Regions from separate parts of the Homo sapiens genome. Here regions 1, 2, 3 and 4 are each linked to region 5. Evidence: promoter capture Hi-C in 16 types of primary human blood cells and fetal thymus (Javierre and others, 2016). All regions are on one chromosome and are shown on one strand. Each heading gives the region's core, a stretch centred on a gene start or on the middle of the fragment in contact. The rest is flanking DNA. Distances are from core to core; before and after follow the strand shown. Region 1 overlaps USP49 (ubiquitin specific peptidase 49). Region 2 overlaps USP49 (ubiquitin specific peptidase 49). Region 3 overlaps USP49 (ubiquitin specific peptidase 49). Region 4 has its middle 27 kb from the start of UBR2. Region 5 holds the start of GUCA1B (guanylate cyclase activator 1B).

What was found. Contacts are between HindIII fragments. The CHiCAGO score rates a contact against its expected background, and 5 or more counts as called.
Region 1: a contact is called between a fragment that was not itself captured here and the fragment with the promoter of GUCA1B in region 5, in 6 of 17 cell types (erythroblasts, megakaryocytes, endothelial precursors and 3 more). The highest score is 7.2, in erythroblasts.
Region 2: a contact is called between a fragment that was not itself captured here and the fragment with the promoter of GUCA1B in region 5, in 5 of 17 cell types (naive CD4 T cells, naive CD8 T cells, non-activated CD4 T cells and 2 more). The highest score is 7.9, in naive CD4 T cells.
Region 3: a contact is called between a fragment that was not itself captured here and the fragment with the promoter of GUCA1B in region 5, in 2 of 17 cell types (naive CD8 T cells and naive CD4 T cells). The highest score is 5.8, in naive CD8 T cells.
Region 4: a fragment that was not itself captured here is called in contact with the fragment with the promoter of GUCA1B in region 5 in 1 of 17 cell types (endothelial precursors); the score reaches 6.0 in endothelial precursors.

What each region holds. Positions count from the first base shown.
Region 1 is chr6:41,790,479-41,793,178 of GRCh38, forward strand. USP49 (ubiquitin specific peptidase 49) reads right to left here. Exons shown (of 8, transcript NM_001286554.2): 8 at 1-2,700. Among named protein-coding and RNA genes, the nearest start is that of TOMM6, 4.1 kb to the left of the region's middle. The HindIII fragment of the contact is 1,996 bases long and covers 419-2,414 here.
Region 2 is chr6:41,828,850-41,831,549 of GRCh38, forward strand. The region is part of intron 3 of USP49 (ubiquitin specific peptidase 49); the gene reads right to left. Among named protein-coding and RNA genes, the nearest start is that of TOMM6, 43 kb to the left of the region's middle. The HindIII fragment of the contact is 3,275 bases long and covers 1-2,700 here.
Region 3 is chr6:41,869,847-41,872,546 of GRCh38, forward strand. USP49 (ubiquitin specific peptidase 49) reads right to left here. Exons shown (of 8, transcript NM_001286554.2): 3 at 1,718-1,791. Among named protein-coding and RNA genes, the nearest start is that of USP49, 24 kb to the right of the region's middle. The HindIII fragment of the contact is 2,220 bases long and covers 182-2,401 here.
Region 4 is chr6:42,535,981-42,538,680 of GRCh38, forward strand. No RefSeq gene overlaps it. Among named protein-coding and RNA genes, the nearest start is that of UBR2, 27 kb to the right of the region's middle. The HindIII fragment of the contact is 2,051 bases long and covers 260-2,310 here.
Region 5 is chr6:42,193,549-42,196,248 of GRCh38, forward strand. GUCA1B (guanylate cyclase activator 1B) reads right to left here and starts at 1,408. Exons shown (of 4, transcript NM_002098.6): 1 at 1,066-1,408. The coding sequence starts at 1,272. The HindIII fragment of the contact is 7,472 bases long and covers 1-2,700 here.

The DNA.
Region 1 (2,700 bases), core at 167-2,666, 400 kb before region 5:
ACCATGGCAATATTTTTTTCTGGCCAGTTTACTAGGCATTAAAAAAAATACTGCTTTTATGTGCCAAGTCTCTTATGGAACTAGTATGGGATTAAAGGACGTTAATTGGAAAGGAGGGTCAGTATATAAGGACCACAGTGGCCTGTTAAGGATGACAGATGTCTCTAGCAGTTTGTTCACTACTAAAGTTAAACAGGACAAAATAGTCTTTCCTGACCTTGCTGGCATAAATATTAAGAAAATTGTTTGAGAATTAGATTTTTTTAGTATGTATATAAAAACAGCACCATTCTTTGTATAAATCAGATAGATCTTATCTGATAGATGAAGCTAAGACCCTTTGAGTCTACACTGGGTTGACTCTGAGAGGTTTATATCTTATTGGGTATTAAGATAAAGAAGGGTCACATGAGAGCAAAGCTTAGCTTTGAAGCCATCACCTCCCAAATGGTGACCAAGGAGGAAACTTTTAAGCCATAGTATAGATGCTAACCCCCATTTAGACCTGCATCAGATCACTTGCTAAGACAAGAAATACCAGCACCTCCTGTTCTTTATAGGAATGAAACTTAGATCCTTAAAGGCTGCTACCTGATATACTCATGACTGGACAGTTTTGATAAAAACTTCCAAAATTGAAAATCAAAATCCAGCAAGAATTAAGACATGGCAGCTTCCAAAAGCATAATTCAAATTTCATTCAAAATTTACTGTTTTGGCTTCAAGTAAGTGTTTACTGTTGGTTGGGTTTTAAAGCCATAATTATGGTTGAGTAAGGATTCATTTATTTATTTATTAAATTTTTATACATTTTTGAAAAGATTTCAAATCTATGTTTCCCAGGCTGGTCTTGAGCTCCTGGCCTCAAGCAATCCTCCCACCTTGGCCTCCCAAAGTGTTGGGATTACAGGTGCTAGCCAACTGCATCCAGCCAATGTTTCATTTCAACTGGCTTAAATCTTCAAAGTGGTTAAGAATTTAGTAAATAAAACTACTTAATCTACAACTTTCAAAAATTGATGAGTAATCACTAATTCTGTAAATGAAGGAGTTGGACTTCACTATTGCCAAAGCAACATTTTCCCCAAGGAAAGTCAATTTGATATCCTGTCACACTTTTCAGCCCTGGCTAGTTAACACAGTACTATGAAAATCTTTAGCTAGATTTTAAACGAAATATGCCAGCAGAAGTATGGAATGAGTCCACAAAAATGAGTGCCTGCCACAATGCTATAGTAGCTATGGTGTATTTAGTGCAGAGTGTGGGATGAATAAGTACATAGTAATTAAAGTCATAGTCCTGGCCCAACAGAACAGTTACTAAATGTAAGATACAAACTAAACTCACAGTCATATTTAGAAGGCGCTTTTCAGCTTTAGCACTGACTTAAAAAGTCTGAACCACCAGGAAGATGCGTACTTAACTGGTTAAAAAATTAAGTGGCCCTGGAAAGTTTTACCCCAAAGATACAACTTCTTCACTTATTTAGTTCAGTAATGAGGCTGAGGGACCCAATTTTCAAGTGTGCATTTGAGTGGGAAACTTTTAAACACCATATGTTGAAGTTTCATGAGCTCAGTGGAAACCTTAAGGTCAGAGTAAAAGAAACTGGCTGTAAACAGCCCTGCAGTGAAGAGACTGGGTCTTAGCACCTTCCACATTCACTCAGCGCCATCTCAGTCAGCGCCTGCCAGGGAAAGGGCATGGAGAGCTGGGACGGGTGCCTTCTCTTTTGCACCACTCCCTTTGCATATTACACAGTGCACTGGCTTGCCTTACAATCTAAGGTTCACATACAGGGGGTTTTCTATACTGCTTCCGGACATTTTTTGCAAAAGAACATCAGAACCAATGAAGGTACCATTTCAGGAGGAATCATTTTTGTTTGACTTCTGCTATATGTTGCCCAGCATTAGTCATTGTTTTGATAAAGACTAAAAGGCCTTTTCTCAACATTTGTGCTCTCCCAACCACCTGGGAAAGCAACCCTTCCACTCACAAGAGGTAACCTCAGATAGGGATATAGTATTCATTTAAGAAGGGGTAGCCCCCCAGCCTGATTTAAAAAGGCCCAAGTCAATGTATGGAACATGACAAGGGAAGTGAAAAACAATGGAGTACACAGTCTGCCTTGAAAAGCAGCCATTTGATGAACAGTCACAAATACAAAGAATTTGGACATTGTAACATAATTTCAGAACTTGCTGGTAAGAATAATTTGCATTCACACACAAGAGACATGAAATGCTTTTTAAAAGTCTGTGATACCAGATGTCCTTTAAACACTACACAGACCCATTTGCCACTTGAAATGACAAGAAGAAATCCTTTCCCTTAATCTTTTCAATTCCATGCAAACCGTAATTGAGTACAAGGCACCAAATTTTATGAATTGTATAAAATTAGTTCACAAAGCTTTATCAGTAAGTAGAACAAACTCCATTTCTCCCTCCCGGCCAGCCCACCCTCCTCCCACCCACCACCCGCCATCCCCGACCAAGTTTTCATTCTGCACTACTGTCGACCTCTCTAGGGCTTATGCTGGGGCATGCCCCACTGTCAGCCAATCCACCTCATTGGTTCTTCCCTTGTACTTGGATGAAGCTGTAAGCACAGCCAGAGTAGCAAACTCATACAATCATTGACTCTAGAAGCCTTGCCATTAAAAACAAAAATAAACTCTGCTATTGAGTCCATAG
Region 2 (2,700 bases), core at 83-2,582, 360 kb before region 5:
TGGATTTTTTCCTCCTAGCCTCACCCTTAATCATTTGAAATTTTGATTGGCATTTATTGAATTTATAAACTTATTTAGGGAAAATTACCTCTTTATTATATGAAGTCCTCCCATCCATGAACATGCTATCTCTCTGTTTATCCAGGTCTTTTGATTATGTTTTCTCCCCAAGATATATATTTCTTGTTTAGATATTTCCTGGATACTTTATAGTTTTTTTGTGGCTACTATGAATAGAATCTTTAAAAAAGTATACATTTACTAAATGATTATTGCTGGTAGACAGGAATGTGATTGATTTCTGTATTAGGTTTAATCATATGAAACTGCAAATAAATATTTAACGACCATTTTGACCTACATAAATTATAATTTTGTATGGTTGAATCAAAAGGTTGCTGATCTGAAACTCAGCAACTTTGCAGAACTATTATTATTAGTTCTAATAATTTGTGGATTCTCTTGAATTTTTTTTTTTTTTTAAGATGGTGTTTCGCGCTTGTTGCCCAGGCTGGAGTGCAATGGCACGATCTTGGCTCACTGCAACCTCGCCTCCCGGGTTCAAGCGATTCTCCTGCTTCAGCCTCCCAAGTAGCTGGGATTACAGGCATGCAACACAATGCCCGGCTAATTTTGTATTTTTAGTAGAGATGGGGTTTCTCCATGTTGGTCAGGCTGGTCTTGAACTCCTGACCTCAGGTGATCTGCCCACCTCAGCCTTCCAAAGTGCTGAGATTACAGGCGTGAGCCACCGCGCCTGGCGGATTCTCTTGAATTTTCTATGGATGTCTACATAGTCTTCAAATATAGACAGCTTGGTCCTCTCTTTCTTGTCTTCTGGAATTAACCAGGAAGTTCAGTTGATTAGTAAATATTAAGGCTGATAGTGGGCACCATGTACTGTTCTTAACTTGAGAGGGAACAGGTCTGTAGTTTTACTGTTAAGTGTGATGTCTACCAAAGGAAGTTTTGGTTAACTTTAGGTTAAGAAAGTTTTTTATTTCTAGCTTTGTGAAAAAAATTTAATCAGACTAAATATTAAAGTTCATATAATGTTTTCTTCTGAACCTATTAAGAAAATAAGAAGAACTTCCCCTTTTAAAAATTAATATGTTGGATGATATCAGTGATGTATTTTCTGATATGAAACCATCCTTGCATATAATAATTTAAACAAACTATTTGGTCTTGATGTTTTGTTTTTTAATACAATAATACATTCAATTTGCTAGTACTGTTTAGATGTTTCAAATCCATTTTTAGAAGATTAGCCTTTCATTTTCTTATAATATACTGACCTTCCCTGTTTTGTACCAAGATTATACTAACCTCAAAACCTGAGATAGCAGCTTTCCCACTTTATCTCTTCTCTAAAACAGTTTAATTCTTCTATGGTTTATCTGTTCCATGAAGGTCTGATAAAACTTACCTGTAAACCTGTCTCATCTAGGCATTTTGTAGGATTGTTTCAATGTTTAATATAGCTAAGTTCAGATGAAGATCCAAAAATCCTCCCAGTGATCACAGGTCTCCAAGTCTTGGGAAATTATGCCTTGGTAACCTAGTGTCTACTTTAACCCCTACAGAAATTCCATATAAGTTTATACTTTTGAAAATAAATAAATAGTATGTTAATGACAGACAATGATGGAGCAAACAAAACAGATTTGCAACCAATTCAAATTTAGGAAAGCAGGCCAGGCGTGGTGGCTCACACCTGTAATCTCAGTACTTTGGAAGGCCAAGCCAGTGGATCACCTGAGGTTAACCAGTTCGAGACCAGCCTGGCCAACATGGTGAAACCCCATCTGTACTAAAAATACAAAAATTAGCTGGGCATGGTGGTGCATACCTGTAATCCCACTCAGGAGGCTGAAGCAAGAGAATCACTTGAACCTGGGAGGTGGCGGTTGCAGTGAGCCAAGATCGCACCACTGCACTCCAGCCTGGGCAACAGAGCAAGACTCCGTCTCAAGAGAAAAAAAAAAAATTTAGGAAAGCAGCACGAAGCACCAGTGCTGACTGGCCAAGAGATTGTTATACACTGGTGCTACCTGTACAGGCTGATTGATAGGAACCTCCACACAAGATAACCTGCATTGTCACTATAAAAGGTAGAGCTATCGACTGGGATTGGTGACTCATGCCTGTAATCCCAGCACTTTGGGAGGCAGAGGTGGGCAGATCACCTGAGGTCAGGAGTTCAAGACCAGCCTGGCTAACATGGTGAAACCCCGTTTCTACTAAAAATACAAAAAATTGCCAGGCGCAGTGGCTCACGCCTGTAATACCAGCACTTTGGGAGGCTGAGGCGGGCAGATCACGAAGTCAGGAGTTTAAGACCAGCCTAACCAACATGGTGAAACCCCGTCTCTACTAAAAATACAAAAATTAGCCGGGCGTGGTGGCATGCACCTGTAACCCCAGCTACTCAGGAGGCTGAGGCAGGAGAATCGCTTGAACCCAGGGGGTGGAGGTTGCAGTGAGCCGAGATTGTGCCGCTGCACTCCAGCCTGGGCAACAGAGCGAGACTCCATCTCAAAACAGAAATAAAAATAAAAATAAATAAAAATACAAAAAATTAGCTGGGCGTGGTGGTGCGCACCTGTAATCCCAGCTACTCGGGAGTCTGAAGCAGGAGAATTGCTTGAACCCAGGAGGCAGAGGTTGCAGTGAGCCGAGACCGTAACATTGCACTCC
Region 3 (2,700 bases), core at 42-2,541, 320 kb before region 5:
CAGGCAAGATGAACCTATGTTAGGCTGAAGATAGTTGTTTATTCATATATAACTATAAACATCATATACACCCTAAGATATACAGTAAAAGGTAAAGATATAGAACTTTATCCTCACACATAGTCTAGCAGCATACTCAGAGATGAAGTCAAAAGAAAACTTCTCATGAAAAAAACTAAAAAGCTTTTGCCACCATGGTTAACCGTATCTGAGATGGTTTAACTCTTGGAATGTATCAGAGAAAAATTTATGTGTGGATGGCTGGCACATAAAAAGGCTAACTGGGATACATATGAGAATTATAGTTAACATTTACTAAACACTTACTTCATTCCAGACATTATTTCAAGTTTTTTATATGGATTAACTAATCAATTGCTAAGAGATAGCATTTTATTGTCCTCACCTTATATCCAAGGAATTGAGGCACAGAGATAACATGTCCAAATGTCAAGTTAATAGTGACTGGTTAAAAACGGTCTGGCTCCAAATCCATGTTTTTAACCACTAGGCAAAGAAGGTTGCACAAATACATGCCATATACTTATAGACTCTGGGAGGAGGGTAAGATTCAGGTAGAGGATTGTAGTTATCTGTTATTTTTAAATTATTGACATGAATGTATAAACTTGCATAATTAAAAAAACTTTTATATCTCATAAACTTAAAGTCAAACCTTTTACTGAGCTTTCTGTAGAATTCTATTTTTTAAGAAGGTCTTGCTCTGTTGCCCAGGCTGGAGTGCAGTGGAATGATTATAGCTCACTACAGCCTCAATCTCCTGGGCTCAAGCAATCCTGTCACCTTAGCCTCCCGAGTAGCTAGCCACCACACCTGGCTAATTTTTTTTTTTTTTTTTGGTAGAGATGAGGTCTTGCTATATTGCCCAGGCTGGCTAGAATTCCTGGTCTCAGCCAGGCACAGTGGCTCACGCCTGTAATCCCAGCACTTTGGGAGGCATATCCCAGCACAAGGTGGGCAGATCACTTGAGGTCAGGAGTTTGAGACCAGCCTGGCCAACATAATGAAACCCCGTTTCTACAAAAATACAAAAATTAGCCAGGTGTCGTGGCGGGTGCCTGTAGTTCCAGCTAGTTGGGAGGCTGAGGCAAGAGAATTGCTTGCACCCGGGAGGCAGAGGTTGCAGTGAGCCACGATCACACCACTGCACTCCAGCCTGGGCAACAGAGCAAGACTCCATCTCAAAACTAAATAAATAAATAAAAGAATTCCGGGCCTCAAGCCATCCTCCCACCTCAACCTCCCAAAGCAGAATTCTATTTGATTACCACCAGACACACATCTGCACTTGCTCAAATGAACGGGATCCTCGTGGTGGGACAAACATCATAGCAACTGACATATTTGGAGAAAAAGAAGGGGTAGATAATTACTCTTGACAGGTCATGACAGATACGATCTCTATCTTACCACCAAGTTTCAAGACCTACCCTAGACTTGTTTCAGTATGGTTGCTGGTCTTTAGGTCCCATTTTAACTTCAAATATGGCTGTGTCCCCTCTTAGCTTAAGTTAATTCGTGGTACTAAAAAATTCACAAGGTTAAGATGAAAGCAAGCGGTGAAAGTTCAGAATGGAGTTAGACAAAACAGTAACTGATCAATTACCCTCATAGTATGCCAACCTCAGCCACACATAATACTATTATTATAAATAGCTTTCATTAATAATGTTTTATTACAGTTTTTATTTCTTACCCATTAAACAAGTTTTTTCCATCTTCTTCCATATTATTCCACAGTCATTGGTTAGGTTTCCTCTTCTCTATTACCTACAAGTGGGAAACAATCTGTAAGATTGGGCTAATACATGGCAAGAAAAAAGCAATTTCATTAATTGTAATACAAATTCAAAAAAGGACCAGTAAATTACAATGCATTAAACTCCCTACAAGTCCTTAAAACTGATGTAAGAGTAAAAAAAAAACTGTGATCTTTCTTTTCAGCTAAGAGTAACCAAAGAGTCAGTCACTTATGGGTAGACTGATCTACAAATGGAAGTATTAAAGGTTTACTTCCTGAAAAAAAGCACTTCTGCATTTGTTTTAGGTCTTAAAAATTACACATTATATTTGCATACAATCTGAAACTCAGGAAAAAACACACAAATTCATGGTAACAAAAATACTCGAATATCAAAAGCTAAAATTATTTTTGCGTAAGCAAAATATATAACAAGATGGCATGAGGTGGTGACTCTTTTGTGCTAAGTGGGTTTATGACCTATATGTAAGCGGCATGCTTCTTTAAAAGCGGTATATATTCTGTACACAAGGACAATATATTAGCCAAAGACATCTAGAGTTTATGATTTTGACAAATTATATGTATAAGCATGTTTAAGGTTTCTGACACATTATCAGGAAGTAGGACTCAGTATTAAGCTTGAGATCGGCAAGCTGGGCCACCACTGTAAGAGGAAAGAAAATTCTCTATTGTGTCATCCTAACAGCTAACACAGAGTTCCTCTTCGAAGAAACTTTAAGAAAATATGTTCCCGGCCGGGCGTCCGCCGCCCCATCTGGGAAGTAAGGAGCCCCTCTGCCTGGCCGCCGCCCCGTCTGGGAAGTGAGGAGTGCCTCTGCGCGACTGCTGTGCAACCATCCAAGTATGAAGTGACAGCCTTGTGTGTTATCTTTCTGTCCTCCCCAAGTTTGCATTTTCGACATTAAAGTTTACTT
Region 4 (2,700 bases), core at 35-2,534, 340 kb after region 5:
CAGGTGATCTGCCCACCTTGGCCTCCCAAAGTGCTGGGATTACAGGTGTGAGCCACCACACCCAGCCCAGAGCCATGGGTCTTCTGTGTCCACTGGCGAATGGATCAGGGGTGGAAAACCAATGCAGGGTCAGCCAATGAGTGGCCCAGCCAGCAGCAGCCCGTGAGGGGCTCCACTGTAAAAACTCCTGTCCACCAAAGAAGAGGCAGTGCCATGAGGTCATAGAAGCCATTGAGAACCAGAACTCTTGATAAGTAGAAGCTTGTAGAGAACAGAAGCCATGAGGCAAAGAAAAGAAGGGTTAGAGGTGAGCTGGTAGTGGCAAAAGTGTGAGAATCAGAGGCAGAAGGAGGCTGTGTCACAGTCATGTCAAAAGGTAGACAATCTCCTGCTGAGAGGGGGACACGTTACTGTCCCCAGAGCTCTGTATCCTGGGCCCCACTTCTGGTTCCCCAGCCATGCTGTAGCTGCAATGAGGCCCAGCTGGGCAGCCACTCTGGTGCCGGCAGTGCCCTGATTCCCCCAATTACCATGTGGGTTCTTCACAATAATTATGTAACCTACCCTCCCACTGGAGGAAGAGAATTATTTGAGATAAACCAAAGAAAGCCATTTACTACAAGCAAGAGAGCTTAGCACATACTTTAAGTAATTAGATTCATTTATTAAACTTTTGAATAAAGGATTTAAAATGTGATTGCAATGGGAAGAAGTGTGGAAGAGGATGGGAAAACACAGGGTAACTGAAGGAAGTGAAGACTAGGGGGTCCCTGGGGTAGGAAGAGAGAGGAAAGACATTGCAAAGAGGGCAAAATGAGGGAGAAGGAGGGGGCAAACTTCTTTATCCACAACCAGTCCAGGCTATTCCAGTCAGAGAGAGAACCCAACTGGAGGCTAGTGTCAGAGGGCAGGAGCAGCTGAGCAGCACAGGGTTGTCCAGGAGAAGATGTTGAGAGGTGGTGTGATACTCAGAGCACGTTCGATGGTGCAGGGAGCAGGTGAGTCCCCCGAGGGGGCCTTGCTCTGTTGATGACTAATCAGAAGTAACAAGATTTTCTGACTTGGAGTTCACTCTCCACTCACAACCAGAATAAAGACCCTGGTCTACTTTCAGAGGACAGAGCTTGCACATCCAAGAAGTTCCTACCACTTCCCCTAAGACAAAAGATGTGGAAGTGAGAACAGGAGACTAAGGGATCAGCATCTTCCTGCTAACCATGGGGTGGATCGGTTTAGGCAAGTCCCCAGCTGCTATCGAACTCCCAGACAGGCCTGACCCTTAACAGCCTCTCTCCATGAGCAGGAGCTTTATTCACTTATTTAGTGACAGAAGCATCAGTCCCAGAAGACATATAGAATAATAGTAACACCAACAATAACAATCACTTATAGGTCCTCACTTATGGGCCTGACATCCTGTCAGGAGCCTTTTACCCAATATCTCACTTCATCTTCACATCAGCCTTCTGAGTGAGGTAAGTTCGATGACTGTCCTCATTTTCCAGATAAGCTGAGGCTCAGGGAGGTTCATTAATTTGATGGAGCTAATTAGAGCAGAAATGGGATCCACACTAGATCTGTCTAATCCAGAGTCTATGCTCTTGGTCACTTGAGCTATACTGACTCCCTCATCAATTATGACAGTTAAAAGGGAATATGGAAGTGGTCTAAGCTCCAAGCCCATCTAAAATATGAAGGCATCTTCGAAACCTCCCCATTTCACTGTACACTTGGAGAATTGTAAGAGTCATCCCATTTGGCCACTGTCTGATGGTGAAATCAAGCCTTGGGCAGCAGCAACTTCCACTTGCAGACATAATCAGAAGTCTCTCATTTATAATACACTGAACTTTTTCTAGAACCTTCCACCTCAGTGTTTCCCCAGGTAGTAGATAAACTGTGAAAAGCCAGGTCTTGAGTTAGCCAAATCAAGCTGATGCAATGAATCAAACACCATCTTCATCAAAGAAAAGGGATCAGCAAATCACTAAACCAACACAGCACTTTGCTGTTTGTCAGCAAGCAGCAACCCCAGACCTTGTTCCAGTGGCCCAGAGACAGCCTTACCTATCTCCTCTGGGAAATCTTCTACAGGACTCTTGAGGAGACTACAGAATCGTGAGGCCAAGTCTGAGAGCTTTGGAGAAAGGAGTAGCAGAAATTCCTTTTACTTCGTCCTTTTTTTATCAGGCTTGTCTTGTTGTTGGCTGAAGAAAAACAGTCTGTTGAACTACATTCTTGTCCAAACAACACAATTAACTTCCTCCTCTTCCTTTTCCTTTCCCTTCTCCTCCTTTTCCGGCTGCCTGAAGCTTCGAGAAAGTAAATTTTGTGTCTTTCATTTAATATTACCTCTGTAGTTGCTGAGACCACAGCTTGCGGAGCTGACTTACAAGTAGGCATCACCCTATAAACTATTATTTGATTTGAAGGAGGGTAGAGGGTCAGTCTGTTCAGGTACTGGACACTAATTTTTTAAATTACTCACCAGATAGTTCCAATGCTGTTAAACTGTTCCAAAGTATAAGAGAGAAAGCAAGCTTTTAGATTATTTTTTTACAAAAGCAATATGACACTGATACTAAAACCTAAAAAATACAGCATTGAATAGAAAAAATGCAGGCAAATTTCTCTCATGAATATGGATTTTAAAAATCTGTAGGGGAGGCCAGGCGCAGTGGCTCACACCTGTAATCCCAG
Region 5 (2,700 bases), core at 158-2,657:
GCTGATTCAGAGGAGACCTAAGAGAGGCGGAGCGCTGAGAAGTCCGAAACTGGCTCTGTGCCCTGTGGGGTGGTCGATGGGGTTCATCTCTAAGGAGGTTCTGTTGAATTGAAGGTGCTGACCTCACCCTCCTGTCCCGGGACAGGCACTGTGGGGACGTGCACTGACTGGTACCAGCGACAGGATGAGACCTGAAGTGGCATTCCCAGTGATTCAGCTTAGAAAGCTAAGTTCTCCACGCACTGAGGAATGGAGAACTGACACTTTCTTCAGATTAAATTGGTATTTGAGGCAAATACCAGGGCATTTGAGGTATTTGAGGTATTTGAGGATTGCCAGGGCACTGAACTGGATAACCTTAAATAATCAAGGGGTTTTTAACTGAATTGAAATTTAAAATTCAATCCCCTGGTGCATTTACAAGATGTGTTATCTTCTTAGCTGCTAGTGACATTGTGGGCTTAGAGAAACTCTAGTCTGAATGATTTAATGAAACCTTCCAGGACTTGAAGAGCTGAAAGGGGCTTTTGCAGTCATTCGCCCAGTCTCCCAATACATGCAGGAGCCTCTTCCAGCATTCTTGACAGGGAGGATCTGACCAGTCTCAGAAGAACCCCAACAAGAGGGAGCTCATAGCCCATGCTAAGATACCTTGTCTCATTTAGAACATCTCTTTTGCTCCTAGTGTTTAGAGTGACAGGGGCTCTGGCAGATGCGAAAACCCGGTCATTGGGCTGCAGAGTCTTGGTCAAAAATACACAAAGAGAGGACCTGGACTGTCTGCCAGTCGCCCTTCAGCTCTCAAGAAGAGGACACAGGGAGCATCAGCCGACAGCTAAGAGATGGAGGGAGGGAAGGAGAGACAGAGAAGATGGAAAGGGACAAAAGGAAGAGAAGAGACAGAAGGGTTTGGTGAGTGAGACAGAAAAGGTAAAGAGAGACGGAGTGGAAAGAAGAGCAGAGAAAGAGCCGAGGAGTGGGGAACTGGGAGCTCTCCCTGAGGACACTTGTGGAGGAAGGCGCCAGGTGGACTGGCCACTGGTCCTTCCCTTCAGGGTGCCTTACCCCATTCTTGTCGAAGGCTCGGAACATGCCCTCTACATACTGGGAGGCCTCCTCATCGTCTGTGACCTTGAAGAAGCGCTTAAACTCATGCATAAAGAGTGTGCCGCTGGGGCACTCCATCACAAACTTCTTGTACCACTCCTGGAGCTCCGCCACATCTATCTCGCCAGCTGCCTCCGCCTCCTCCCAGCTAAACTCCTGCCCCATGCTAGCCCTGAGGAGCATCAGGGAGCAAGGGTCTGTATCTCCTCCCTGGCTTCTGCTGATGGATCTCTCCAACTAGGGCCCTCTTCCTCCCTTTCCAGGAGGCCTGATCAGCCTCTCCATCATCTCCTGGGTGACTGAACATGATCAGTCGGTGCAGGGGGCAGGTGGCAAGGGAGGTGGGTCCAGGCCAGCTAAGCTGCCCTAAGACTATTAGAAGATTCCCCAGGTGGCCGGGTGCGGTGGCTCATGCCTGTAATCCCAGCACTTTGGGAGGCCGAGGTGGGTGGATCACAAGGTCAGGAGTTCGAGACCAGCCTGGCCAACATGGTGAAATCCTGTCTCTACTAAAAATACAAAAAATTAGCTGGGCATGGTGGTGGGTACCTGTAATCCCAGCTATTCAGGAGGCTGAGGCAGGAGAATCACTTGAACCTGGGAGATAGAGGTTGCAGTGAGCTGCGATCACACCACTGCACTCCAGCCTGGGGGACAGAGTGAGACTCTGTCTCAAAAAAAAAAAAAAAAAAAAAAAAAGAGATTCCCCAGGAAGTTCTGACCTCCAGCCTAAACTCCTCCAGCCTCACTCCTTCCCTTAGCCTTGTCAACAAAGCAACCAAGCTGGCCCTGGTAGACTCTGAAGAGGTAGAAGGGGAAGAAACTGAGAGGTAAGCAGAGAGATGCAGAGTGAAGAAAGAGTCGGGGTGCTAGGCTGGGATCCTCCCATCTCACTCACTCCCTATCTCTTTAGCTGGGCCTCACATTGCTTCAGGGAGGCCCATCTTGGAGACAGGAGACTCAAATCCAGAGAGGAAGTGAGATCAAGTCCTAGGCCATAAAACAGAATCTGCTGGTGATCTGGGACTCGCCCCTCAGACGGTCTAGTGAAAAGAGGCAGAATCTATGATGGGAAGGGCTCTAGGTGAGCAACTCTCTTCCCAGGCTAACTCGGTCCCTGAAGCTCCTTTCCAGATTACACCTTTCATCTTGGGAGCTTTTCACTTTCTGATTTAAACTACAAATGCCTCCCTCCAACCCTTCACACAAGACCTAGGGGTAGTGCCTTTTTCACATTTCCTCCAAAATACTAACATGTGAGAAGGATCTGGGAGCATGGCCTAAAATATCTTTGAAGGCTCTTACTTTTACATTATAGGTCATGTAAAATTTGCTTTTGAACAATTACATATTCATGCTTATTTTAATGTAACATAAAAATGACACCTCCAAGAAATCAAAAGACCAGGGACACACATTTTTCTTTTTCTTTGCTTTTTTTTTTTAAATTTCTATTTTTTGAGACAGGGTCTCGCTCTGTCGCCCAGGCTGGAGTGCAGTGGTGTGATCTCGGCTCACTGCAACTTCCGCCTCCGGGTTCAAGTGATTCTCATGCCTCAGCCTCCCGAGCAGCTGGGATTACAGGTGCACACC